3 separate regions of the Homo sapiens genome follow, and all the other regions are linked to region 2. Evidence: promoter capture Hi-C in human tissues and cell types (Jung and others, 2019). All regions are on one chromosome and are shown on one strand. The core of a region is centred on a gene start or on the middle of the fragment in contact, and the rest is flanking DNA. Distances in the headings are between cores, read along the strand shown.

The links. Contacts are between HindIII fragments. The study calls those that stand out against the background at their distance.
Region 1: a contact is called between a fragment that was not itself captured here and the fragment with the promoter of PIRT in region 2, in 1 of the 25 tissues and cell types used here (spleen).
Region 3: a fragment that was not itself captured here is called in contact with the fragment with the promoter of PIRT in region 2 in 1 of the 25 tissues and cell types used here (lymphoblastoid cells).

The regions. Positions count from the first base shown.
Region 1 is chr17:10,606,507-10,609,864 of GRCh38, forward strand. MYHAS (myosin heavy chain gene cluster antisense RNA) reads left to right here. Exons shown (of 11, transcript NR_125367.1): 7 at 1,639-1,717; 8 at 1,848-2,109. Among named protein-coding and RNA genes, the nearest start is that of MYH3, 49 kb to the right of the region's middle. The HindIII fragment of the contact is 5,127 bases long and covers 1-3,358 here.
Region 2 is chr17:10,835,889-10,839,379 of GRCh38, forward strand. PIRT (phosphoinositide interacting regulator of transient receptor potential channels) reads right to left here and starts at 2,199. Exons shown (of 2, transcript NM_001101387.2): 1 at 2,057-2,199. RefSeq lists an enhancer at 1,010-1,511 and a silencer at 3,208-3,432. The HindIII fragment of the contact is 18,169 bases long and covers 1-3,491 here.
Region 3 is chr17:10,627,187-10,630,891 of GRCh38, forward strand. MYH3 (myosin heavy chain 3) reads right to left here. Exons shown (of 41, transcript NM_002470.4): 37 at 3,102-3,272; 38 at 2,906-3,010; 39 at 2,656-2,751; 40 at 2,411-2,548; 41 at 1,346-1,493. The coding sequence ends at 1,467. LOC124903927 (a long non-coding RNA gene) reads left to right here and starts at 3,446. Exons shown (of 3, transcript XR_007065620.1): 1 at 3,446-3,482. The HindIII fragment of the contact is 9,087 bases long and covers 1-3,705 here.

The sequences.
Region 1 (3,358 bases), core at 291-2,790, 230 kb before region 2:
TCTTTAACTGTCTCTGTATTGCCTGACTTGTTAAATGAATACCTATTACTTTTTTAACTTTTTAAGCAAATTCAAGAAAGAAAGAAAGTTAAAAGAATTATTTTGCGATGTGTTTTTAAAAAGCAAGGCTGTTTCATGAAGTGGAATACTTTTATCTCACTATTTTTTAAATTATATAAAATTTTTAGTTGAACTTAAAAAAAAAAAGAAAAAAAAAAAGACAAGGTCTCATTCTGTCACCCAGGCTGGAGTGCAATGGTGCGATCATAGCTCACTGCAGCCTCGAACTCCTGGGCTCAAGCGATCCTCCCAGCTTGGCATCCCAAAGTGCTGGGATTACAGGCATGAGCCATCGTGTTTGGCCCTTGGGCTTTATTTTATTAACAACTTAGCAAATTCCTTCTGCCAATTTTCTTTGTGTCTGCATCCCTAAGAAACATTGAGTTTTGCATTTGTCTCTCAATAGGAGAAGGCAGGCTTTTCTGTCATAATCAGATATTTCTACCCAAGGAATTCATGTATATATTTTTGACTCAGTGGCTTCAATGGCTTAAATAACTTTATTTTTCAACTATGAAGTTTCAAACTGACAGAAAAGTTTGAAAACATAATTTAATAAGTCTCCATGACCCACCATCTAGATTTAACAAATGTCATTTTTCATATTTGCTTCAGATCTTTAAAATAATTGCAATAATAAAATACTGTACTTATCTCCTGCCTTCATCCAGGAGCAACTGTCTCCCTAAAGTTGGTGTGTATCTTCCTGCCCAGTGCTTTACACTTTTATTATATGTGTTTATGTCCATAAGCACTAGGCACTATTGTTTTATATTTTAAAACTATACCTAAATAGTATGGCACTATACATATATACATATATATATTTTTATATATATTAAAAATATATATAAATATATATTTATTTTTTTATATTTTTATATATATTTTTATATTTTTAAATATATTTTTATATATAAAAATATATTTTATATATTTATATATAAACATTTATATTTATATATAATATATATATTTATATATAAAAAATTTATATTTATATATATAATATATATATTTATATATATATTTTTTGCTGCTTTTCATCAATTTTTGAGACATATATAACTCTTATTCATTCATTTTCATGGCTGTATGGCATTTCATATATGACTCTACCACAATTTATCTATCCTGTTTATCCAGTTGATGGACATTCAACGTACTTCTAATTTTTCTCTATTATAAAAAATTAAGCATTGAACATCCTTCTTTATGTCTTCTTGTGCACTGGAATCAGAATCCATCCAAGGGACTTTCCTAGGAATGGAATTGCTAGGAAATTAGTTGGTTGAACAGTCTTTTTAAATATAAAAGTGAGAGAGAAAAAGAGAATTGAACAAGGTCTTAGGTTTTCTTTAGATTTGTTGGTTTAGATAAGGATTCCAGGTCATCTCATTTTACCAGAGTACAAATTCTCCAATTCCTTTCATCGCTTTTCTCCCAAATTTAAAAACTGGGAAACCTCTTAATTAAAGCCCTGATTATGGAGAATTTGTTCAAACTCAAAGAACTAACTTATCTTGAAGCTCAACTGAGACAGGTGAATACGTTGTTTTTTTCTCTCCTTTCTCTCAGAATATTGAGTATCACTTTAGAATATATTAAACAACCTATCAAGATTAATGAGCTTATTCAGAAAAGAAAATAAGTCCTGGTAAGTAGAATAATAAATTTAAAATTCTGAATCTTTAAACCCAGGCTGAAAGATGGCCTCTAGTGTAAGCTGCATTACTGTGCTGTGACTTTATGAGCCTTCTGTAATGGTATTTTTCCCCTCCTGCTAGATCAATTTCAGCGTGTTTGGACCAGCAGATTCCAGGTGATGGATAGGCAGCTTCATTTTAATAGTCTGTTGGTACAGGGTGACCTGTAGCCTTTCCAGAAGAGGTAAAATGAATCCTCCGGTTGTCACCCCCTCCTTCCTCGCTCCAATTCCATCATTAATCCCCGTTTGAGGATTTGAGTGCTGCCGAGGACTGACAGACTCCATGAGGTTCAGCTGCTGCCTGGTACATGTGGTCACCTGCAGCTTCTTCAGCCCTACATGTGAGTAACTCAGGACAAAGGTCTACAACACCTGCCCTAAATTTCCCCAAGTCTTCCCAGCACTCCCAGTACCTCAGTCTTCTGTGTTTTAAAGTGTGATACATGCACAAGGCGTGATGTACAGCAGGAGCTAAGGTGGTCGACTGCGAAGTCCATCGCATCTTAATTGTTCTTAATTTTAAGGTGTATTTTACAGATTTTATTGCTGAAGACAAGGCTAAACAGCATTACATTTTAAAAATCATTTTTTAAAAAAAGTACATAGAAGCCGGGTGTGGTGGCTCACACTTGTAATCCCAGCACTTTGGGAGGCCAAGGTGGGTAGATCACTTGAGGTCAGGAATTCAAGAACAGCCTGGCCAACATGGTGAAACCCCATCTTCACTAAAAATACAAAAATTAGCTGGGCGTGGTGGCGCACGCCTGTAATACCAGCTACTCAGGAGGCTGAGGCAGGAGAATCACTTGAACCCCAGAGGCGGAGGTTGCAGTGAGCCGAGATCACGCCACTGTACTCTAGCCTAGGTGACAGAGTGAGACTCTGTCTCAAAACAAGTAAATAAATAAATAAGTTAAAAAGTACATAGAGATGCATGTGGCTGTGACAGTATTGGGAAGACTGTATTCAAATGACTAGATCTGGGAGACACTGATTGAAGCAAAGCACACTCTGACTTAGGGTCCTAGATAAGTCCCTGAATTTATGTGAGTGAATGTTTTCTGGGCACATTCTTTCAGTTCCTTGGGTCTCAGTTTAGCCCCTGGAAAATGCAGGCATTGGACTAGATCAGGGATTCTCAGCCCTGCCTTCACCTTTGAATCACCCGGACAAATAATGAAAAATGCTGGCATCTGGGGGCCCTCTTCAAATCAATTTCATCAACAACTTAGGGTAGGGACAGGGTTAGGCCAGGCATCAGTATTTTTTTTTTTTTTTTTGAGACAGAGTTTTGCTCTTGTTGCCCAGGCTGAAGTGCAATGGTATGGTCTTGGCTCACCGCAACCTCCACCTCCCGGGTTCAAGCGATTCTCCTGTCTCAGCCTCTCGAGTAGCTGGGATTACAAGCTTGCGCCACTATGCCCAGCTAATTTTGTATTTTTAGCAGAGACGGGGTTTCTCCATGTTCGTCAGGCTGGTCTTGAACTCCCGACCTCAGGTGATCCACCCTCCTCAGCCTCCCAAAGCGCTGGGATTACAGGCGTGAGCCACCGCGCCCGGCCAGCATCAGTATTTTTTAAAAGCTCTCCC
Region 2 (3,491 bases), core at 949-3,448:
GCCTCCAAATCCTGATTTTTTTTTTTTTTTTTGAGATGGAGTTTCGCTCTTTTGCCCAGGCTAGAGTGAAGTGGTGTGATCTTAGCTCACTGCAACCTCCACCTCCCAGGTTCAAGCTATTCTCCTGCCTCAGCCTCCTGAGTAGCTGGGATTACAGGTGCATGCCACCACGCCTGCCTAATTTTTGAATTTTTAGTAGAGACGGGATTTTGCCATGTTGGCCAGGCTGGCCTCGAACTCCTGACCTCAGGTGATCCACCTCCCTCAGCTTCCCAAAGTGCTAGGATTACAGGCGTGAGCTACTGCACCCGGCCAATCCTGCTCTTTTATTTATGCTTTCTCAAGGAGAGGGCCCTGCCTTTTTTTCTTCTTGTTTTCTTCACCGCCTTCCTTGCATTCTACCACCCTACACCTGTACATCTCCACCTCTGAACTCACTCCCCAGCCTTTTCCTGGTGCTGTCCTCCTTCGAACGTGCTGAAATACAGTTGGTATTAAGAGGGTTGTCAGATTTAGAGAATAAAACTACAAGGTGTCCAGTTACAGTTCAGCCTCAGATCAACAACGGATAGTTTTTTTCATGTAAGAATGTTCCAGTATTGCATGGGACCAACGCATGCAAAAAATGTATTTGTTGTTTGACAAATTCAAATTGAACTGGGCATCTCGCAATACATCTGGCACCCCTAATATTGTAAGAGATCCCGCTGTGCTGCTGTGCTTGGGCCTGGAGTTATCTGGCCCTTCCTGAGCTTCTGCCCCTCAGGCCCCACCATCTAGAGAGCTCTGATAGCACCTGGGCTGTTCTGGAAGTTGCAAGAGCTGAAAGCAGAGGAGAGAGGCACACATTACCTCACTGCTGGGAGGCTGGGCCCAGCGAGGGGAGTCTGGGGGAGAAGCGGGGAAGGCAGGATGGAAGTGGTGGGAATAACACCATGTATTATTCCTGTGGAAGACCCAGAGTGGTAAGAAGTGGAGGGTCCTCCTGTTTCCCTCACGGAGTCCCCATTAAGGCCCCACCCAGCTCCAGCTTGCCAGTGGTCATCCCCACGGTCCCTTATCTTCTCTGGCGGTGCTGTCTTCCCCTCACCAGGACATTCAGTTGGTGACTGTCCACCCCTCTGATAAGGTGAGTGGGGGCCAAGTGTCTGGGCTAATAGAAGCTAGAGGGTTTCTGAGTAAGCCGCTGCTGTCACCATGGCCATGGCCACCCATCTGTCACCTGCTCATAGCGCTTCTAGGAAGGGAAGTTTCCCAAAGGTCACAGTCAACCTAGAGGGTGCCACCCACCTCCCTTGTTGGGCCACCCGGCTGGTGCCCAGACCCTGGCCAGTGACAGGGTAGAAAAATAGCTCGGGCGATTGCGTGTGTGACCACGGCTGGCTTTACCCGGATGCAGGGTTCTCACGGCACACAGTTGCCTGACTGAGCCACGTCTTTGTCCGTGTTTGCATGTGCCTGCCTTGTTCCCCCTGTCTGAGATAAAACTCCCGAGGCAGCCAACGCACTCCACCTTGTTTTTCTGGCACCTGCCCCAGACACCTGCCACAGCTGCAGGAGGAAGACATTGGCAGCTGCAGAGGTCTGACACAGGGTGCTCAGGAGGACGGCTGGGGTCCGAGATTCCACCCATGTACTCTGGGGTCTGGGGGTGGCCTTGCACTTTCCTGTCTGGCTTTTTTGCTTCTTCCACTTAGATTTGGGAGGAGAGTCCCTGCCCAGCCCTTCCCACAATGGCTGCTAAGAGTGAAGGCTGGATGCTATAGACGCAGGACTGAAGCAGCTCTCTGCCCACAAATTCCCTTCTTCCCAGTACACAGCAAGGGGCGGCCCCCCTTCCTCTGGCCACCACTGTCTGCCAAGACCCTCAGCAGGCAGTGCCTCCAGGCTGACTTCACCCCCTCCCAGGGCATAGCCCCCTTTTCTCCGCTTGTTGTTCATGCTTGCCTTCCAACCCCAGTTTAAAGACAACACGCTCCAAAGCAAAGTTAAAATCTGCTCCTTCCTTCAGCGAGATGGAAGGAAGGGCAGAAGGAAACATTCCCTCCTTACTTACTGTCCTCGATGTCCCAGGGGAGGATGGGGGACCTGGGAATCACTTGGTGCTCGTGCAAGGAGGAAGCCGGCAATGAGTTTCTGCTCAAGTCCATGCCAGCCAGAGAAAGCCACCCTGACCACGTCCAGAAGTCAGTGTGTTGTGAATCCCAGCAACTGAGCAGGCTCCAGCAGGGATGGATGAGCTCACCAGGCAATGGCCTAATGGGTTAACTCTTTGTGAGCTGCTGGCATGGGTCCTCGGACTGTGGCTTTCTCAGCTCTGCTCAGCCACAATTAGATGAATCTTGTGAAAAATTCATGATGCTTCTCTGCAGTCTGTCTTCAAGTTTCATGGAGGCGTGCGTTCCGTTGGTGCCTGGGCAGGGCAGCTTCTCCTGACCCAGGCTCAGAAATCAGAGGACCTGGAGTTTCTGGGTTGGTGGAGGTGTGTAGTGGCCATGGTGGTGGGGATGAGTTGCCAAAGAGTGGATCAGACCCTCCGGCTGACTCAGGCTACACTGGCTCTGTTCAGTGCAGGCCTTAATAATTTGATCTGGGAACTCTCTGTGTTCTGGATGTTGGAGGGGGCACATGCAGACTTAGAAAACATCCTTGGTTGCAAGATGGCAGGGACACTTCTTGGAACTTTCCAATGCACGGGTGGGCACCCTATGTTACAAACTGCCAGGAGCCCACAACACGACTTACCTCCATCCCAGGCCTGACATCTCAAATAGAGGCAAAAGAGCTTGTTCCCCATCGCTCTTCCAATCATTCCTCATGGTGCCCTGTTGCTTTTTATGGGATGCCTGCTGCCACAATGATGAGAAGAGAATGATGCAAATCAGTGCAAGGAGGATGAAAAGGTTTTCTCCTCTATAAACCTTTACCAGACTGTGCTTCGGGAAGCTGGGTGTGAGCTGTTGAGTGGCCAGTTCTCAAGATGCTGACGGATACACTGAGGTCAGCAAAATTGCCTATGATTCTGGAAGGCATGCTGGCTCCTGCCCTGGCCCACACTAACCTGAGAACGTGGGCAGCTGTTGTTCCTCAGGATAACTGGTGGGTGGGCATCCTTGCTACTGGGAACAGTACCCTGAGGGGCTTCCTCTGTGGTCTGCCGGGAGGGCTTTCCTAGGAGCCATCCAAGGAAGCTGCTGTCAAGGCAGGTATGAGACTCTCCCATATTTGGCATCTTGAGTTCCTCATCTGTGCAATGAGCAGGAGATTCTGAGCCTAGAAGGCTCTGTAGAGGTTGCTGTGTGATCCATGCCTAGAGAAGCAGAGAGCTAGGAGGATGAGCCTGTCCCCTGAGCTGCTGTGAGGGATCAGGCTGAGTACGCCCTCTGTCCTCTGTGAAGATGAGCGTCTCTGCTCAGGGCAATGAGCAGGGAGAGGCCTGCCTTGAGTGTCCAGGGGAACTTGACTTTGAAGGTTTTTGAGGATGTGAGTTG
Region 3 (3,705 bases), core at 797-3,296, 210 kb before region 2:
GCTCACTGCAACCTCCGCCTCCTGGGTTCAAGCGATTCTCCTGCCTCAGCCTCCCGAGTAGCTGGAACTACAGGAGGGCACCACCACACCCAGCTAATTTTTGTATTTTTAGTAGAGACGGGGTTTCACCATGTTGGCCAGGATGGTCTTGATCTCTTGACCTCGTGATCTGCCCGCCTCGGCCTCCCAAAGTGCCGGGATTACAGGCGTGAGTCACTGCGTCCAGCCTTTACCATGTATTTTTAAAAGATAAGGACTATCTTAGAAAGCATAATCACAAAATCACATTATACCGTGAAATGAACAATAATCTCATGTCACCATCAATATCCAGTCAATAGTCAAATTTACCAATTGGACCGTGTGTGTGTGTGTGTGTGTGTGTGTGTGTGTCTATTTTTTAACAGCGTGTTTGTACAAAGCAGTATCCTAACAAGGTCCACACAGTGCAATTGGCGGATAGGTCCACTAAGTATCTTTTAATCTACAGGTCTCCCTTGTATTTGTTTTATATTTTTTCTTTGCAATTTATTTATTGAAAAAGCTAAATGATTTGTTGAGTTCCCCCACATCTGGAGAGAACACCCCTTGGCCTTTCATTCTCACCTGAGTCAAACTAGGTCCCCTAATCTTCTGGAATCAGACAAAGAAGGGAACTTGGCAGCTATTGCTAATAAATTTACTGATGACAATAAACAAAGGATCCCAGGCTAGAAGATGCTCTTTCTAGTAGCAAGTCAACCAGATAGTTATTTGACTTCCTGCCTTCCTTCCCTCTTAAGGTAAAGACAAGGTTATCTTGGGTCAGGGGTGGGATTTTCTGTTGTGCAGCTTTGAAATAGTGCACACTGATCTAAGATAACAGTAGTAGATTTAGACTGAGCGCTTGAAGGGGCCAGCCTCTTTTTTATTCATTTATGTATTTTTGATAGCACAGTGCTTACATGAACAGCTGCCCAACAAATATTTACTAGATTTCAGATGTATTTCCCCACTAGAATGTAAAGAAGGAGAATGTGGGCCTTTGCTTTATAACCTTATTCAACTCAAGACAAGGGCTTTTCATGAGCCTACCTTTGTGTTTCCTTCATGTCATATTAAGAGATGACTCTTTTGAAAAGCTCTCCCTCCCATTCCCCACCAAAGCAAAGGTTAACCCGGAAGTTTTTTTTTTTCCTTTTTGATTTAAGCCAAAAGCCATCTCTCCCTCCGCACATGCACACACCAATTGAATTTACCGAGCCATCTGCTTACAAAGCTTTCACCTCCGAGCATACAAACCATCAAACTAGGAACCATTTCTGCATGGGGAAGAGGAAAACAAATACAGCAAAGCGGCCCCAGATTGAAACAAAGCAAAGTTTATTGCATGTGAAAAAGAGTCACATGGACATTAAGTATCAATGGTCAGGAATCAAGAAAATATACATTTTGCATATCTTCTGTCCTGCTCCAGAAGGGCTGGCTCACTCTTCACTCTCGTGGACCACCATCTAGGAAGAAAGTAGGCACCTGGAGTCAAGTCGGGTGGCAGAGACACATTCCCACCCACCACTTCTGCCGGCTGGCATCAGAGTTGCTTGCCTACTTCAGTGGGACACAGGATATTTTTTGGACCTTGGGAAAACGCACGATTGCACACATGAAGTCACCCCATAGCCTGAGAAACTGGCCCTCCGAAAGAGCAAGCCCCAAACGCTGGAGACCCAGCGACCTACTGTCGGATGCTGTGTGTTCAGCGGGCTCTGGAGGGGGCTCCTGCAGCAGCCTTTTGTTACCAGCAGGGGGCGCATGAAAGAGCTCAGTGGGACCCGCTCGCTCCTTTTCAGGATGGCGGTTTGTTTTGTTTTGTTGGGATACATGTGCAGAACGTGCAGGTTTGTTACATAGGTATACATGTGCCATGGTGGTTTGCTGCACCTATCAACCTGTCATCTAGGTTTTAGGCCCCACGTGCATTAGCTGTTTGTCCTAATGCTCTCCCTCCCCTTGCCGCCCCCACCCCCGGAAAGGCCCCGGTGTGTGATGTTCCCCTCCCTGTGTCCACGTGTTCTCACTGTTCAACTCCCACTAATGAGTGAGAACATGTGGTGTTTGGTTTTCTGTTTCTGTGTTAGTTTGCTGAGAATGATGGCTTCCAGCTTCATCCATGTCCCTGCAAAGGACATGATATCATTCTTTTTTATGGCTGCATAGTATTCCATGGTGTACATGTGCAGGATGGCGGTTTTTATTGTGACTCACAGACCAGGATTCTAGCGAGGGTCCAGTCAGCTAAGTGACTTTAAGCACTTTCTCTTCCTGAGCCTGAGACTCCCCAGCTCTAAAGTAAAGGGTTCTCTGAGGTTCCTTCCAGCTAAGAAGTTTCTACAGTCCCTGGGGGGGGGCTCCTCCCAGCTCAGCGACTCACCCTGCTGGAGGTGAAGTCTCGAGTCTTAGCGCGGAGCTTGTTGACTTGAGATTCTGCGATATCCGCACGTTCCTCGGCCTCCTCCAGCTCATGCTGAGCCTTTCGGAATTTGGTGAGATGAGCATTGGCTTGTTCATCCTAAAACCAAAGAGCCCAGGCAGGTTATATCAGCACGCGCCTCTCTCAGAACTCACCACGGGAAACAGCACGGTCTGCCTGCCGCAGTCAGCACCTATCTCACTTACAGCCTCCTCCGCCTGCCTCTTGTAGGACTTGACTTTCACTTGCAGTTTATCCACCAGATCCTGCAATCTCAGCACATTCTTCCTGTCCTCTTCACTCTAAGAATGAGAAAGTGGGAATGTCACTGGAGAGGAGGGGGCAGATTTGCACACGGCATGGGCAGCTTTCTGGGCCAAAGTGTTTCTTCCTGTGGTTTGATGGAGAATCTGCACGTCACAGAGGACACGATCATGGCGTTTGCGTTCCACTTACCTGGTACGTCAGCTCCTTGACCCTCCGCTCATACTTCCTCAGGCCCTTAACAGACTCTGTGTTCTTCTTCTGCTCTCCCTCAAGTTCAAACTCCAGCTCTCGGATCTGGGGGAGAGGGTGGGGAAATTAGTCTGGGGCTGCAGCGTGATTGGGAGGCTGGAAAGCTCAGCGCAGGCGGGGTTCCTCCTGCACACACCCTGGTCTCCAGTTTCTGGATCTGCTTCTTCCCGCCCTTCAGCGCCAGCTGCTCGGCCTCATCTAGACGATGCTGCAGGTCCTTCACCGTCTGTTCCAGGTTCTTCTTCATCCGCTCAAGGTGGGCGCTGGTGTCCTGCTCCTTCTTCAGCTCCTCCGCCATCATGGCAGCCTGAAAAGCACATGGGACTTGCTAGGATGCAGAGGAAGCTCCAGTGCCTTGGAACTGTCAAAACCTGGGGACCTCGGAGGACCAGAGACCATGCTAAAGAAAAAGGACAGGCCAGGCGCGGTGGCTCACGTCTGTAATCCCAGCACTTTGGGAGGCCAAGGCGGGTGGATCACCTGAGGTCAGGAGTTCAAGACCAGCCTGCTCAACATGGTGAAAGCCCATCTCTACTAAAAATACAAAAAATTAGCTGGGCGTGGTGGCAGATGCCCGTATTCCCAGCTACTCCGGAGGCTGAGGCAGGAGAGTTGCTTGAACCCAGGAGGAGGAGGTTGCAGTGAGCCGAGATCTCGCCATTGCACTCCAGCCTGGTCAATAAGAGTGAAACTCCATCTCGGGGGTGGGGGAAGAAAGAAAGAAAGAAAAAGGACAACGG